Linked DNA regions of Homo sapiens: regions 1 and 3 are each linked to region 2. Evidence: promoter capture Hi-C in human tissues and cell types (Jung and others, 2019). All regions are on one chromosome and are shown on one strand. Each heading gives the region's core, a stretch centred on a gene start or on the middle of the fragment in contact. The rest is flanking DNA. Distances are from core to core; before and after follow the strand shown.

Region 1 (3,855 bases), core at 430-2,929, 170 kb after region 2:
CTGACCATAAGTTTTCTCATTTGAAAAATTGAGGATAATTCTTCCTATCTTGCAGGGTTTTCTGAAGATTAGAAATTATATATATGGCTGAGTGCGGTGGCTCATGCCTGTAATCCCAGCACTTGGGGAGGCTGAGGAAGGAGGGTTGCTTGAGCCCAGGAGTTCAAGACCAGTCAGGGCAACACTGTGAGATCCCATCTCTACCAAAAAAAAAAAAAATTAGCTGGGCATGGTGGCACGTGCCTCTGGTTCCAGCTACTCGGGAGGCTGAGGTGGGAGGATTGCTTGAGTAGGAGAGGTAGAGGCTGCAGTGAGCCATGATTGTGGCACTGCACTCCAGCCTGGGCAACAGAGTAGGAACTTGTCTCAAAAAAAAAAAAAAAAAAGGAAACCAAAGAGGTGTTTCCACTGTAATTAGTACTGCCAAGTATATGATGTTTTTTTTTTTTTTTTTTAGACAAAGTCTTGCTCTTTCACCAAGGCTGGAGTGCAGTGGCGCGATCTCAGCTCACAGCAAGCTCTGCCTCCTGGGTTCAAACGATTCTCCTGTCTCAGCCTCCCAAGTAGCTGGGACCACAGGCGTGCACCACCACACCAAGCTAATTTTTGTATTTTTAGTAGAGATGGAGTTTCACCCTCTTGGCCAGGCTGGTCTCGAACTCCTGACCCTCAAGCCTCCCAAAGAGCTGGGATTACATGAGAGAGCCACTGCACCCGGCCATGCCAAGTATATGATTAAGCAAACAAACATTACAGACTGTGATGGTTATTTTGTGTGCCAACTTTGCTGGGCCCTAGTATTGAGATATGTGGTCAAATATTATTCTGGGTGTTTCTGTGAGGGTGTTTTGGATGAGATTAGCATTTCAACAGTGGACTTTGAGAAAAGCAGATTGCCCTCTGTAATCGGGTGGGCCTCATCCAGTCAGTTGAAGGCCTGAAAAGAACAAAAAGACTGACCTCCCCTGAGCAAGAGGGGATCTGCAGCAACAGCCTTTGGACTTGACCTGTGATTCTGTGTCCCTGGCTCTCCAGACTGCTGGTCCAGCACGCAGGTTTTCGACTTGCCAACCTTCATCATCATGTGAACGAATTCCTTCAACTCTCTCTGTACACGCTTCCTATTGGTCATTTCTCTGGAGAACGCTGACTAATACACGGATGCCAATGTTTATTTTCCAGGGGACATTCAGACACAGGGTCAATTCTTTGCACTCCAGAGTATTTGTAATGATGATTTCTGCCCTGCTGACTTTTTTCCTTTCTTCATCCAGCACTTTAGGGCCAACTTTATTTTAAGTGGGGTGGGGAGAGGAATGAGAAGGAAGAGGGAAAATTCTTGCTATTGAAAATGCATCTGGGGGCCAGGTGAGGTGGCTCACACCTGTAATCCAGCACTTTGGGAGACCAAAGCAGGTGGATCACCCGACGTCAGGAGTTCGAGACCAGCCTGGCCAACCTGGTGAAACCCTGTCTCTACCAAAAGTACAAAAATCAGTCGGGCATGGTGGCAAGTGCCTGTAATCCCAGCTACTCGGGAGGCTGAGGCAGGAGAATCACTTGAACCCGGGAGGCGGAAGTTGCAATGAGCTGAGATCACTCACTGCACTTCAGCGTGGGCAACAGAGCAAGACTCCATCTCAAAAAAAAAAAGAAAAGAAAATGCATCTGGGGCCGAGCATGTTGGGTCATGCCTGTAATCCCAGCACCTTGGGAGGCAAACATGGGTGGATCACTTGAGCCCAGGAGTTCGAGACCAGCGTGGCCAACATGGTGAAACCCCATCTCTACCAAAAATACAAAAATTAGCTGGGTGTGGTGGCGCATACCTGTAGTCCCAGCTACTGAGGAGGCTGAGGCAAGAGAATCGCTTGAACTTGGGAGGCAGAGGTTGCAGTGAACTGAGATTGCTCCACTGCACTCCAGCCTGGGCAACAGAGCAAAACTCTGTCTCAGAAAAACAAACAAACAAAAAACAAAGAAAATGCATCTGAACTTTGACTCTCCAAATGAACTTACTTTATTTTATTTATTTATTTATTTATTTATTTTGAGACAGGGTCTCACTCTGTCATTCAGGCTGGAGTGCAATGGTGCAATCTTGATTCACTGCAACCTCCCTCCGCCTCGTGCCTCAGCCTCTCGAGTAGCTGGGATTTCAGGTGTGTGCCACCACGCCCAGCTGGTTTTTGTATTTTTAGTAGAGACAGGGTTATGCCATGTTGGCCGGGCTGGTTTCCAACTCCTGGCCTCAAGCAATCCACCCACCTTGGCATCCCAAAGTGTTGGGATTACAGGTGTGAGCCACTGCACTTGGCCAAACTTTACTTTTTCCCAAATCAACTTTGGGGATTCTGTCCCAAGAAAACACATCTAGATGTGGAAAAATTTTTATGTACAAAGAATTCAAATACAATGTGCTATGGTTTCCTTTTTTTTTTTTTTCTGACGGAATTTCAGTCTTGTCATCCAGGCTGGAGTGCAATGAATGGTGTGATCTTAGCTCACTGCAACCTCTGCCTCCCAAGTTCAAGCGATTCTCCTGCCTCAACCTCCCAAGTAGCTGGGATTACAGGTGCCCACCACCATGCCTGGCTAATTTTTGTATTTTTAGGAGAGATAGAGAGTTTCACCATGTTGGCCAGGCTAGGCTGGTCTCAAACTTCTGACCTCAGGTGATCCGCCCACCTCGGCCTCCCAAAGTGTTGGGATTACAGGCGTGAGCCACTGCACCTGGCCTGGTTTGCTATTTGACCCCTCCAAATCTCATGTTAAAATGTGATCCCCAATGTTGAAGGTGAGGCCTGGTGGAAGGTGGGTCATGGGAGCGCACCCCTCATGGCTTGGTGCAGTCCTCACACTAATGAGATAATGAGTGAATGCTCACTATGTTAGTTCCCAAGAGACCTGATTTTCAAAAAGAGCTGCCTGGCAACTCCCTCCCCTCTTTCCTGCTCCCTCTCTCACCGTGTGACCCACCAGCTCCCCTTCACCTCCAACATGAGTGAAAGCTTCCCTGAGGTCTCACTAGGAGCAGATGCTGGCGCCAGGCTTCCTGAACAGCCTGCAGAACTGTGAGCCAAATAAACCTCTTTTCTTTATAAATTACCCAGTCTCAGGTATTCCTTTATAGAGACACAAACAAACTAAGACATAATGCCATTTGTGGGGGCAGGGGGGACTTGGAAACAACCTAGATATCCCAGAAAAGGAGTGACATAGAAATGATCTTCATGAAGGATTTGATTGAAGTAGTGATTGGAATTCTACTATTGATTGGAAAATGCCAGTAAGTGAAATAAGCTGAATAGCTGTTTATCATTGCAATTTCACACCCAAACTTAAATGTTCCTCAATAAAAGATGAATTAATAAAAATAAAATGAATGAATACAATAAAATTAAAAATGACTAAGTAGGCCAGGCATGGTGGCTCACGCTTGTAATCACAGCACTTTGGGAAGCCAAGGTGGGTGGATCACTTGAGCTCAGGAGTCCGAGACCAGCCTGGCCAACATGGCAAAATCCTGTCTCTACAAAAATATATTAGCCAGGTATGGTAGCGTGCTCCTGTAGTCCCAGCTTCTCAGGGAGGCTGAGATGGGAGGTTAGCTTGAGCCCAGAAGGTCGAGGTTGCAGTGAGCTGAGATCGCACCACTGCCTCTCAGCCTGGGAGACAGAGTGAGACTCAGTCTCAAAAAAAAAAATTGACTAAGTAGAAACAGATGAACCATGAAAATATGTTCTCAATTACTCTCATAAATAAAATAATCGTAAATATATATTTAAATATATGGGTGTGTATATACACACGTACCCACCCACATATGTATATATACACACACATTTTGGGGAG
Region 2 (3,673 bases), core at 1,031-3,530:
TGAAACCCCGTCTGTACTAAAAATACAAAACTTAGCCAGGCATGGTGGTGGGCACCTGTAATCTCAGCTACTCGGGAGGCCGAGGCAGGAGAATTGCTGGAACCCAGGAGGCGGAGGTTGCAGCAAGCCAAGATCATGCCATTGCACTCCACCCCAGGCTGACACCAGCAAGTCTCCATCTCAAAAAAAAAAAGAGAAGTGGCCGGGCGCGGTGGCTCACGCTTATAATCCCAGCACTTTGGGAGGCCGAGGCGGGAGGATCAAGAGGTCAGGATTCACACCATTCTCCTGCCTGGCCAACATCGTGAAACCTCATCTCTACTAAAAATATAAAAATCAGCCAGGCATAGTGGCGTGCGCCTGTAGTCCCGGCTACTTGGGAGGCTGAGACAGAAAAATTGCTTGAACCCAGGAGGCAGAGGTTGCAGTTGAGCCGAGATCGTGCCACTGCACTCCAGCCTGAGCAACAGAGTGAGACGCCTTCTAAAAAAAAATACATATATATATATATATAAAAAATATATATAATAAAAATAAACAAGTCATGCAAAATCTCTACCTGCATAATGGCCACAGTCTAGCTTAGGTGATAGTTTTAAACCAGTTTCCTTAGCTTTGGAATTAACTTTAAATAGAGAAATTTTTTAAATGTTTAAATAGAGAGGCCAGGCGCGGTGGCTCAAGCCTGTAATCCCAGCACTTTGGGAGGCCGAGGCGGGTGGATCACGAGGTCAGGAGATCAAGACCGTCCTGGCTAACGCGGTGAAACCCCGTCTCTACTAAAAATACAAAAAATTAGCCGGGTGTGGTGGCGGGCGTCTGTAGTCCCAGCTACTTGGGAGGCTGAGGCAGGAGAATGGCGTGAACCTGGAAGGCGGAGCTTGCAGTGAGCCGAGATCACGCCACTGCACTCCAGCCTGAGCGACAGAGCAAGACTCTGTCTCAGAAAAAAAAAAAAAAAAAAAAAAAAAAAGAAGTAAGCATAACTAACTCTCTCCAGAAACAAAGTTTTCCTGTCTTCCAGAAAACTTCCAGGCACAAGTTTTCTCCCGTGTTGCTCTTTAAAACAACACTTTGAATGTGTTGGTATTTCAGTTGCATTGGTGGTGAATATTTATGATGGAAGCTAGAGGGGAGCAAATGTCACTTGCCTCCTGGAGTACCGCACTCTTCTCAAGGTGCTGGAATGGGTTGGAGCCTCCACCTACGGTCAAGGACAATGGAGAAGGTAGGTTGTGACTCTGAACTTCAAAACTCTCCCAGACATAGGTAAAGGGAAGATGTCCCTTCCTAGGAAATCTAGTAAAGTTCAAACTCCTCAGGAATGGCAATCAAGCCTCTACAATCTGTCTAGGGATCCTACTAGTCTCCTGCAAGCAGGTGGGCTCCACTCTACCCCAAACCACTCACAATCTCCCAGCAGCCCTGGTACAGTCCTGTGCTTCTCATGGTGCCATGTCTTGTGTTCATTTATATAACTTGTAATTAACTAAGTCCCTATGTGCCAGGGACCACCATCTCGTTGTAACTAGTTCCTTCATAGCAGATGACACATTTGCAAATAATTACACGTGTGATTATCTGGTTGATGTCTGCCTCCTCCATCGTGGGTGCAACCATTCTAATATTCCTAGCTCAGGCACTGAGTGTCCCACTTGCTCTGTTGCAGTATCCAGGACACCGTACAGTACCTGGCATACAGTAACTGCTCAATATACTTTGCTGAATAAATGAATGATGGGGTCAGAGTTCCCAGTCACAGGACGCTGGCTCCGCAGGTTACACCCCAGTTTGGCCAGCACCAACGTAGCCCCAGCGAATCCCAAGAGGTTGGACGAAGAAAGTAACAAGAGAACATTCGGCATGGTCCCCTCCTTTGACAGATGGGTAAATTGAGGCCTGGGGGGGGGGGTGTTTGTCGCGCCCAAGGTCACCCAGAAAATTGCAGTCCGAGCTTACAAGAGTGAGACAGCCGCGCATGCTCGGGCTCTCCGAGGCCTGCCACTGACTAGCTGTGGACCCTGGCACAAGCCCCTGCCCCTCACTGGGCCTCAGCCTCCGGGTCAGGACAGAGAACCAGAAGGAAAGCTCGGCGGGTGGGGGTCCGGCCTCCCTCAGACCCAGGCCTGGCCCCCTCACCTGACTCCTCATCCTTCTTGTCGAATTTCTTCAACATAGTGGAGTCGGTGGGGCGCAATGCAGCAACGCAATGCTCGACGGGCGCGGCACGGAGTAGCGGTGCCACAGTGGTTCTACAGGGACCACTTCCGGGCCCCGACTGGCCACGTCGCCCAGCGCTCTGCGCAGGCGCATTCCGCGCTCTGCGCCTGCGCTCTTTCCGGTAGCCACAGCCTCGTCTAATGTTAACCTTAGCTCCGCCGGAGCGGGAGTGGGGAAAGCCAGACGGAGGGGCAAGGGCTAGGTGCAGGGGGGTACTGACTAGCATCCCAACTCTGCTCCCTACGCTTCTTTCCGTATACCAAGGGAGGAGGAGGAGCCCCTGCCTCGTTGCGTTGTGGCGTGAGTCTTTGTGGCTTTCGGGTGTGAGGTTGGTGGCACACACTGGCCCGCAGTAAACACCCAATTGATGTGACCGGTCTATGACTGTTATTGCCACCTTCCGAAGGAGCCTTGCCAGCCACTCACTCCTCGCTTTCAGATTCTTTCCCCTGCCTGATTTCCTCCTCAGCTCGAATCGCCATCTAACACTTTATTTTTACTTTCTGGCTTTTATTTGTTTATTTATTTCTCGTTCTGCTGCCCAGGCTGTGGTGCAGTTGTGCGATCCTGGCTCACTGCAGCCTACAGTTCCTGGGCTCAAGCGATCCTCCCACCTCAGCCTCCCGAGTAGAGCTGGGCGCACCACCCCCGACTAATTTTTTAATTTTTGTAGAGACGAGGTCTCACTATGATGTTGCCCAGTCTGGTCTTGAACTCGTGGCCTCAAGCGATCCTCCTTTCTCGACCTTCCAAAGTGCTGGGATTACAGCGGTGAGCCACTGCACCCGGCCACTTTCTTGCTCTTTTGTTTTTTTTTTTGTTATTTGCTTGTTTGTTTGTCTTTTATTCACTGCAGTGGATAATGTTGGCACATAGTAGTTGCTCAGTGAGTTCTCGTTGAATGAATGCGTGCAATTGCATTTTTAATTTATATCTGCCGGGCCCTATCTCGTCTGCTCCTGATGCAAATTGCCTTGTACATTATCAACCTTAAGAGATCTAACTAAACAGCATAGAACTTCTACGTTATTTTGTAAATACTTTGGATATTTATGGAGTGCCAACTAGATGCGCTGCCTACGCGGGGAGGTGGGGGGAAGGGCGTGGGAAGGAACGGAAAGGGGAAAATGACACATCACCCAGGGTTTATCTTCCTGGGGACCTATGCAGGACACCCTGAGGCTAAGGTAAGCACAGTGCATGCCAGTGAGCCAGATTGCATTGGCAATGGCAAAGTCGTGATGGCCAAGCGCTGCGACACGGCCCCAGCTTGCCTGGGGAGGGGAAGCCCGCAGGCCTGTGGGCAGGAGAAGGAGTGGGCTGTGGAGAGGAGAGGCAGGAGGCTGAGGCAGAGGCCCCAGGTGAAAAGGGTGACCGCAAAGCTGGAGGAAGGGAGATGTCAGAGGGGCCAGCCCTTAGGGTCTGGCTTTGCAGAGGCTAGGGCCAAGGACAA
Region 3 (3,769 bases), core at 1,032-3,531, 180 kb before region 2:
CAGCTCCACACTAGCTCTTAGGAATTGTAGATTCCACCCCAGTATCCATTTGATAACCTAATGTGAATATGGGCCTGCTGCTCCATTTCAGCTCACTCACTCTTTTACCTTGGTCCCTTTGTGAAAACTCATTTCTCATCTTCCATTTGGAGTTTATACCATTTGGCCAGGCACAGTGGCTTACACCTGTAATCCTAGCACTTTGGGAGGCTGAGGCAGGAGGATTGCTTGAGCCCAGGAGTTCAAAACCAGACTGGGCAACATAATGAGACCCCGTCTCTACAAAAAATTTTAAAAATTAATTGGGCATGGTGACATACACTTGTGGTCCCAGCTACTCAGAAGGCTGAGGTGGGAGAATCCCTTGAGCCCAGGAGATTGAGGCTGCAGTGAGCTATGATCACACCACTGCACTTCAGCCTGGATGACACAGCAAGACCCTGTCTTAAAAAAAATAAGTCTTAATGCCATTTTTATTACAAGTATTGTTACAGTTCAAATACCAAAGCATTTACTATTAGAAAGAAACCAAGGGAAAAAACTAGTTACTATGTCTTAATTACCAACTACCATTTTAAGGTATAATTTGAAAATTAAATTGATTGAATAAATGAAAAATAAATCAGTTGTTCAGGAAACTGCCTTTGTTGTAGGGCAGTGTGAACCGAATCAGGCTGCAGTGTGATGCAGAGGTAGTTGGTTGTTTCCACTTTAGTGAGTGTCAGTTTTTAGAAGGATAGATTTTGACCAGAGAACAGGAAAACTGGCCACACCTCCCTCTCCCCAAGGCAAACCCACTTTATAGTTTACCATCACATTTTCATTTAACAAACATCCAAGTAGCATTCACAAAGTGTAAAGCCCTGTGGTGGGGAGGGGCACAAAGATAAACAAGTTCTGTACAGACCCTCACAGAGAGAAAGAAGGGCACCTAATAATGGAAGGGAACAAAAGCGGTAAGGAGTAGGGACAAGACACCCAAAGAGGGTGGAGAGGGGCCTCTGAAACCTTGGGCCCAGCTGGGCCTGGAGGGTGGGGCGAGCTCACCAAGCTCAGGGCATCAGGTGTGGCTTTGTGGTAGGGCTGGTGGTCACATACCTTCCCCCAGCATCTCCATGGGGAGTGTGGGCCCGTGTGAATGCAGGAGGCGAGCTCTGCACCAGGGGAGCTCAGGACACAGCCAGGTTGCTCAGGCTCTAGGCCTGGCTTTTCCTGTTTCTTGCAGGTGAGGTTGCCTGACCTCTGTACCTGTTAACTTGTCTTTTAAAAATGGGATAGTGGTGTCTACCTCACACAATGATGGTAATTATGAAGTTCAGACATGTAGTGCTAAAATGGTACCTGGCTTGCAAGAGTGCTGTGTGAATGTGGCCCATGGCAACAATCTGTTTGCAAGCGTCACAAAGATAGCTTGTCTCAGCAAAGGAATAAGGGCTTAGGTGTTTCTCTTTAACTTTTTAAAAATTGAGCTAAAAGCCACCATTTAACCATTTTAAAGTGTACAGTTCAGTGGTTTAGTACATTTACAGTGTGCAGCCATCATCACTAATTCCAGAAGTTTCCATTTCTTTTTTCCACTCCAAAAAGAATCTCTCCACCTGTTAGCAGTCACTTCAATTACTCACCCCATCCCCTAGCAACCATTCATCTACTTTCCGTGTCTGTGGGTTCGTCTATGCTGAACATTTCACATAAATGGAATCATACAGCACGTGGCCTTTTGTGTCTAGCTTCTTGCTTAGCATACTGTTTTGAAGGTTTATCCATATTGTAGCATGTACTTCATTCCTTCTTATGGCCATCCTATGGATATACCTCATTTTGCTTATCAGTTGATGCACATTTCAAGGGTTTATTATTATTCTCTGGTCCTCAGGTTCTGTAACTCCAAACCATGGCACCCTGCCATAAGCGGGGCAGAACATACCCAACACCTCTATCTGGCCACAGCTCACTTTGGTTCTTCCTAACCCTCTGGAGGAGGCAGGGCCTATTTTTCCTATGAGAAAACTGAGGCCTAGAGATATGGAGACCTGCGGAAGATCCCACATTTCACGGGAAAACCGGAGACTTTCTACACTGGATTCAGGGACTACTGGGCCGAACAAAGAAATCCCGCCTTTCACCAAGCCCAGAACTGGGCGGGGCGTGGATTTGCTCGCTGCCCCTCCCAGAATTGGACGAAAACGAGGTGGGGCCAGCAGGCGCTCGGCAGGGCGGGCTCGCTCTTAACACGTGACAGCGCTCAGCCAATTGGCGCGGGGCGTCCGTAGCCACGGCAACAGGTTGCTTCTGCAGTCTGAGCTGAGCGCCTTTCGCACGACTTGGAGTTACGGTTTATCTGATACCCCGGTACCCCTACGCAAGCAAGCCCACATCGACACACATTCACACACGCCCTTCAGCACCCCCTCCCAGCACCACGACCATGGACGACGACTATGAAGCGTACCACAGTCTGTTCTTGTCGCTGCTCGGTAAGCCCCGGGAAGAAGCGTCTGCAGGGAGCGCTCAGCGCCCTAAGGACGCGTGAAAGTGGGGTGAGGGCAAAAACTCAGCCACAGATATTGTGCCGACCCCCTCTGGGTGAAGGGTTGCCATGGAGTCGGGGGCAGGTCATGTACATTTCTGAGATTTCTATCTGAGCCTAGTTGGAGGAACCAGAGGCCCGACCCATGTGACGGGAGCCCTCCAGCTCGCCCTGTTTCTCTGCAGGACATTAATGTATTCAGTACTGGAGGAGAGGCATGGAGAAGACGTCAGTCTTCAAGGTTTTGGCAGTAATGTGCTGGGGACCAAGTTCTTGGCAAAGCAATGCAGCTTCACGGGTAAAGGACAGAGATAAATGGATAATTACAGAATAAGAAGGGGTAAATGCCGGGCCCAGGGATGACACCCAGGAGTAAAAGGTGTGCTGAGGGTATGGGATGGGGAGGAACAGTTCCAAGCTTTTGGAAAAGATCTTTACACTGGAGCTTAAAGGATAAAAAGGAGTTCTCCAAGCCAAAAGGGGAAGGAAAAGCATTTCGGGCAAGGAAACAGCATGACCCAAGAGGTCTGGTGTCTCTGGAAATGAGGTGAGAGAGGTCAGAAGGGACAAGATCATAAAAGATACTGCAAGCCAGGAGATGGAGAGGCCACTGGGAGTGGCAGGACTGGATTGGGAGCAGTCAGAAAAGACCTGAGACTGAGTTGGCAGACTCAGAATGTTGGTGTGGGGAGATGAGAGCTGGGGGCTATAAAGCTTGAAGACTGAAGGTCTTCTCCATGCCGCTTCTCCAGCACTGAACACATTAATGCCCAGTGGAGAAACAGGGAGAGCTGGAGAGGCTGGCCACCTTTCCCAGGCACACAGGTCAGGGCTCTGGTCAAATGCCCAAGCTAAAGATGCTGGGAGGTGAGGGAGAAGGCCCAGGCTAGAGGGAACTACGGGACTTGGGGGCTGGTTGGTCAGGAAACACAGAAGAGGCAAATAAAGATGGTTCTCAAGTTGGCAGCTGGGGGACCTGGTAGATGGAGATGTCTTCCACAGAGATAAGAGAACGTACTCAGAGGACCCAGTTAGTGGGGGAAGGGGCACAAAGACAAATCCAGTCTTGGTTGGTTGAGTTTAAGATCCTTGTCAGTAGCTGGGCACAGTATCTCACGCCTGTAATCCCAGCACTATGGGAAGCTGAGGCAGGAGGATTGCTTGAGCCCAGGAGTTTGAGAATAGCCTGGGCAACATAGTGAGATCCCATCTCTACAAAATTGTTTTTTAAAGTTAGCC

The links. Contacts are between HindIII fragments. The study calls those that stand out against the background at their distance.
Region 1: a contact is called between a fragment that was not itself captured here and the fragment with the promoter of COPG1 in region 2, in 1 of the 25 tissues and cell types used here (lymphoblastoid cells).
Region 3: a contact is called between the fragment with the promoter of EFCAB12 here and the fragment with the promoter of COPG1 in region 2, in 1 of the 25 tissues and cell types used here (spleen).

What each region holds. Positions count from the first base shown.
Region 1 is chr3:129,074,620-129,078,474 of GRCh38, reverse strand. No RefSeq gene overlaps it. Among named protein-coding and RNA genes, the nearest start is that of GP9, 16 kb to the right of the region's middle. The HindIII fragment of the contact is 5,728 bases long and covers 1-3,855 here.
Region 2 is chr3:129,248,213-129,251,885 of GRCh38, reverse strand. COPG1 (coat protein complex I subunit gamma 1) reads right to left here and starts at 2,280. Exons shown (of 24, transcript NM_016128.4): 1 at 2,140-2,280; 2 at 1,152-1,204. The coding sequence starts at 2,176. The HindIII fragment of the contact is 12,995 bases long and covers 1-3,673 here.
Region 3 is chr3:129,427,148-129,430,916 of GRCh38, reverse strand. It overlaps EFCAB12 (EF-hand calcium binding domain 12), which reads left to right and starts at 2,281. Exons shown (of 9, transcript NM_207307.3): 1 at 2,281-2,477. The coding sequence starts at 2,429. RefSeq lists a silencer at 2,095-2,144. The HindIII fragment of the contact is 10,320 bases long and covers 1-3,769 here.